Linked DNA regions of Homo sapiens: region 1 is linked to region 2. The links are contacts of gene promoters, found by promoter capture Hi-C in human tissues and cell types (Jung and others, 2019). All regions are on one chromosome and are shown on one strand. The core of a region is centred on a gene start or on the middle of the fragment in contact, and the rest is flanking DNA. Distances in the headings are between cores, read along the strand shown. Region 1 overlaps ZNF136 (zinc finger protein 136). Region 2 holds the start of FBXW9 (F-box and WD repeat domain containing 9).

Region 1 (2,700 bases), core at 133-2,632, 510 kb before region 2:
TCCCCGGTTCAAGCAATCCTCCCACCTCAGCCTCCTGAGCAGCTAGAACCATAGGTGCAGGCTACACGACTGGCTAATTTTTTGTAGAGATAGGGTTTCACCATGTTGCCCAGGCTGGTCTCAATCTCCTGAGCTCAAGTGATCCTCCTACCTTGGCCTCCCGAAGTGCTGGGATTTTAGGCGTGAGCCACCACTCCCAGCTCCTTTTTTGTGATTTCAAATAGAATCCTAGAGTGTAGCCTTGAGAAGGCTACAGGGAGAAAAAGCTCAGAGAAATAGGGAGAATCACTCTTCATTATGGCTTCACATAACTGAATCTATCTATCTATCTATCTATCTATCTATCTATCTATCTATCTATCTATCTATCTATGTTTATCTTGAGACAGGGTCTTCCTCTTTTGCCCAGGTTGGAGTGCATTGGCACCCATCATAGCTTGCTGCATTCTCATACTCCTGGTCTCAAGCAGTCCTCTCACCTCAGCCTCCTGAGTAGCTGGGACTACAGGCGTGCACCACCACTGCTGGCTAATTTTTAAATTTTTCTGTAGAGATGGAGGTTCTCACTGTGTTGCCTAAACTGATGTTGAATTCCTGGGCTCAAACAATCCTTCTGCCTCAACCTCCCAATGTGATGGAATTACAGGTGTGAGCCAGTTCACCCGGCCACTGATACATTTTGATGAGAAAGTAGGTAGATAAATTGGTGAATTCACCAATTTATTTTCACCAATTTAGTGAAGATTCATCAAGCTGGGTGTGGTGGCTCACGCCTGTAATCCCAGCACTTCGGGAGGCCAAGGCTGGCAGATACTTGCGGTCAGGAGTTTGGGTCCAGCCTGGCCAACATGGTGAAACCCCATCTCTATTAAACATACAAAAATTAGCTGGGTGTGGTGGCACGTGCCTGTACTCCCACCTCCTCGGGAGGTTGAGGCGGGATAATCCCTTGAGCCTGGGAGGCAGAGGTTGCAGTGACCCAAGACCCTGCCACTGCACTCCAGCCTGGGCGACAGAGCAAGACTCCATCCAAAAAAAAAAAGAGGGCTGGGTGTGGTGGCTCACGCCTGTAATCCCAGCACTTTGGGAGGCCGAGGTGGGCAGATCACGAGGTCAGGAGATTGAGACCATCCTGGCTAACATGGTGAAACCCTGTCTGTACTAAAAAATACAAAAAATTAGTCAGGCGTGGTGGCAGGTGCCTGTAGTCCCAGCTACTCAGGAGGCTGAGGCAGGAGAATGGCATGAACCCGGGAAGCGGAGCTTGCAGTGAGCCGAGATCACGCCGCTCCAGCCTGGGCAACAGAGAGCCAGACTCCGTCTAAAAAAAAAAAAAAAAAGGTAAAAAATCCTTCATTAGTCTCATTTAGTACTTAATTATATTTGATCTGCAGGATAGGTACAAGCTTGCAAGTATTCTCTCTTAGTATAATAACAGAAGATGGGCTTAATTTTCCCAGTAACCAATTGTGAGAACACATGCGAAATGCTTCCTGGAGTGTTTCTGGGGGCTCATCAGGTGGGCACTATGTGTTGCGCGTGTAACAAATTCCCAAACTCTCAGAAGGTGGGACGCCAGAAATTTTCATATTTTTTCCATAAAGAGTTTAGGCACCGAGCTACTCTTACATAGGTCATTGGGCTCCTTCCCCAAATCCGTTTCCCAGATACCAGGAATGGATGTGATGCAGGACAGGTGCGCCCTAAAATTGGGGCTTATCCCAGGATGGTTTCCAGCTTTGCCCAGGGAAGAATTCAAGGGCAGGCCAGTGGTGTTAGATAACAGTGTTTTATTTAACAGTACTGGTCTTTGTGGATCAGTGCTAACTCATAGGCAGTACACCCAGAGTCAGCAACATATGGTCTCTTGGCAACTATATTTATACCCACTTTCAATTATATGCAAATTAAGTGGTGGGTTATTTAAAACTTTCTAAGGAAGGAATGATAACTTTCAGGTCATTGCCATGGCATTTGTAAGCTGTCATAGCATTGGTGGGAGTGTTTTATGCTAATGAGCAGTGAGAGCATCTAGAGATCGCTGTTCTTGTCGTCTGCTGGTTTTGGCCCCTTTCTTTACTTTATCCTACCTGTGCCAGATCTTGTTTTGGCCAGTAGGGTTGTGATCAGAATACAAGTCCTGTTGGTCTCCTACCTCAGATGAATGTTGTGAGGAGTGAGGAGCCTTTTTTTAAGGGTAAGCAGTCTCAGGACTGCTAATATAAACTCTTTTGCATAGTAGGTGGTAGGACTTCGTTATGACAGGTTCTACAGGTCCACTGTATGAGCAGACATTAGCTGGGACTCAGGCAGCACGTATTACTCCTTGCAACCACCACCAAGAAAGATGATCAGACACTGCTATTGTTCTACCCGATAGTTCCATTCTAGTATGAGAGTTGCTGTGTGGAAGGAAGTGAGTATGATGACCAAACAGTGGAGTAAATGTTTGCAGACCCCTGAAACATGTGAACTTCTTATGAATTGAGTACAGCTCCCCAGCCCTGTCTGTCTCACCCATTCTCCTCTCCACATATGTGGGATGTTTCAGGACTCGGTGGCTTTTGAGGATGTAGATGTGAACTTCACCCAGGAGGAGTGGGCTTTGCTAGATCCTTCCCAGAAGAATCTCTACAGAGATGTGATGTGGGAAACCATGAGGAATCTGGCCTCTATAGGTAAGGATTGTATACTTCCATC
Region 2 (2,700 bases), core at 135-2,634:
AGGTCTGACCTCAGGCTCAGCATAGAAGCTGGGACCTCATGACTAACCCTTCCTGCCTCAGCCATCTGAACCAGACCAAGGGGGCTGTTTCTCAAACAGTATCTGGAAACCAGGGAGCCTTGTCAAGATGCAGAATGCAAGCCCCAGATGCAGATTCTGTGATATGGACGGGGTCCAAGCATCTATGTTTATTAAGCTGTTTGGGAGAGTCTGACCTGGGGGTTGGATGGCAACACCTTGAGAATCACTGATCCCGGAGTGATCCTGATTCCTCTCTAAGCAGAATCAAAGCTTCCAGGTTAAGGGTATCAAACACCCAAGCTGTAATACATCTTGGCTTAAGGGCCTGAGGATCCAGCTGTATCAGGATCAACAATATCGATTCAAAGGTCCCAAGCTGTCTTCCCTCAGGAACCAATCAACTCAGGGCCAAGAGCCACTGTCTCACCCCTAACTGGGTCAAGGCTCTAGGGCTCAGGAGTTTTGACATCAACAGGTGCTGTCTCAGCTTCTAAGCTGGACTCAGAACCTGAGGATCCTTGGGCTCACTTTGAGCCCCAGCATAAACTCCAGAGCCTAAGACTTCAAGTCCCTGTGTCAATCCCCAATCAGGGGTCAGTGGCTTAGTACCACAAGACCCCAAGACTGAGGATATTTGGATCCTGAGTCGTCCAGGAACCACAGCCCCATGTTAGGGTTTCACAGCCTCAGGACCCCAAGTGCCTGACTGCCTCGTGGTCCACCCAGAGGTCCTCAGGGGCTTCGGCACCACCAGTAACTACCTTAGCCTCCAGCCTGAGCCAGGACAGCCACGAAGCCTGCACCAGAGGCTGCATCCGGAACACCCCATGTACCTCTTCCCCGCCCCAAGCCTGACCTGGGCGGGCGCCCCCGGCCCCCGGTCCCCGGCCCCCGGCCCCGCGCACCTTCCACCACTGGGTAGGGCGCGCGTACGCGGCGTAGCGCGCGTAGCCTCCAGGTGACATGGTCAGACACGAGGTCGCGGAGCGCGTGGCACACCCGCGACAGGACGTGGAGCACGAGGCGGGCGTCCAGGTAGGAGCAGATCTCGAGCAGCAGCTCCGGGGGAAGGCTCAGAAGGCCCGGCTCACTTACGGCCGAAACCCTGGACGCGGCCCGAGGCTCCGAAGCGCTCGGGGACGCGGCGGGTGTGGATAGCTGCGAGGGGCGCGAGAACGCCAGCCCGGATTTTGGCGGACTGAGAACGCGGGCCACGTAGGCCTTGGCCTGCGCGTCTGGGTCTGTCTCTGACTCTGGGTCCGAGTCATCGTCCCAGGTGCGGGAATCATCGCACCGCCCTAGGGGAAGCTCCATTGCGACCGGGTGGGCGCTGCCGGCCTCGCGTCTTGTCTCCTAGGCAGCACGAGGGCACTTCCGGCGCTGTCTGATGACGTTTATGCGCCCACCGGAAGCGACGAAGTCAGACACTGGCTTAATACAGAACATCGCCCCGCTTACAGGGTCTCTTGCAACTGCGTCGGCCTTAGGCTGGAAAATGCAGGTTCCTGTTTCTGCGCTTTTTAAACTAGCCGATACCGAGAGCCAGCCAACTCTAGCTAAAAACGAAACTCAAGCCAGGCGGGGTGGCGCGCGCCTGTAGTTCCAGATACTCAGGAAGGTGAAGGGGTAGGATCCCTTGAGTCCAGGAGTTCGAGACTGCAGTGAGCCATGGTTGTGCCACTGTACTCCAACCTGCGCAACATAGTGAGACCCTGTCTCTTTAAATTAGACATAAAATAAACACTGCTTTAACGAAGGCATCTGTTATATGTGACACTGAGCTTAGAAACCCAAAGGCCCCTTTCCGAGTTCAAGGAGTAGAGATTGGAACTCTTGCCTCTTTTCCCAGAGCCAGAAATATGCAGTTACACTGCAGAGGCATCAGTTAAGTGACTTTTTTTTTTTTTTTTTTTTTTTTTGAGAAAGGAACTGGGGCCTCAGAACTACCTCTCCAGACCCCATTCCCCAACCCAACCTTGGAGGACAGCAGTTCAGTCCTCCAAGCGGAGTGCTTGGCTCATTGCAACCTCCGCTTTCTGGACTCAAGTGATCCTCCACCTCGGCCCCCCAGGTAGCTGGGACTACAGGCGCGCACCACCACACCCGGCTAATTTTTGTATTCTTTTGTAAAGACAGGGTTTCACTACGTTGTCCAGGCTGGTCTGGAACTCCTGAGCTCAAGCCATCCGCCCCCAACTTGGTCTCCCAAAGTACCAGGATTACAGGCGTGAACCATCGCGCCTGGTGGAAAGCTACCTTTTTCTTTTTTCTGAGACGGAGTCTCACTCTGTCACCCAGGCTGGTGTGCAGTGGCGCGATCTCGGCTGGCTGCAACCTCCGCCTCCCGGGTTCAAGCGATTCTCCTGCCTCAGCCTCTAGAGTAGCTGGGAATACAGGCACGCGCCACCACTCCTGGCTAATTTTTGTATTTTTCAGTAGAGACGGGGTCGCACTATGTTGGCCAGGCTGGTCTCAAACTCCTGACCTCGTGATCCGCCCGCCTCAGCCTCCCGAAGTGATGGGATGACAGGCGTGAGCCACTGCGCCCGGCCTAACATCACACTTACTAAAACAGCATGTTGGCCGGGTGCGGTGGCTCAGGCCTGTAATCCCACCACTTCGAGAGGCAAGGTGGGTTAATCACTTGAGGTCAGGAGTTCAAGACCAGCCTGGCCAACA

What was found. The method cuts DNA at HindIII sites, captures the fragments that hold promoters and counts their contacts. A contact is called where the count stands out against the background at its distance.
Region 1: a contact is called between a fragment that was not itself captured here and the fragment with the promoter of FBXW9 in region 2, in 1 of the 25 tissues and cell types used here (hippocampus).

The regions. Positions count from the first base shown.
Region 1 is chr19:12,183,234-12,185,933 of GRCh38, forward strand. ZNF136 (zinc finger protein 136) reads left to right here. Exons shown (of 4, transcript NM_003437.5): 2 at 2,552-2,678. Among named protein-coding and RNA genes, the nearest start is that of ZNF136, 21 kb to the left of the region's middle. The HindIII fragment of the contact is 4,023 bases long and covers 1-2,700 here.
Region 2 is chr19:12,695,247-12,697,946 of GRCh38, forward strand. It overlaps FBXW9 (F-box and WD repeat domain containing 9), which reads right to left and starts at 1,385. Exons shown (of 10, transcript NM_032301.3): 1 at 927-1,385. The coding sequence starts at 1,335. RefSeq lists enhancers at 1,295-1,344, 1,655-1,714. The HindIII fragment of the contact is 8,232 bases long and covers 1-2,700 here.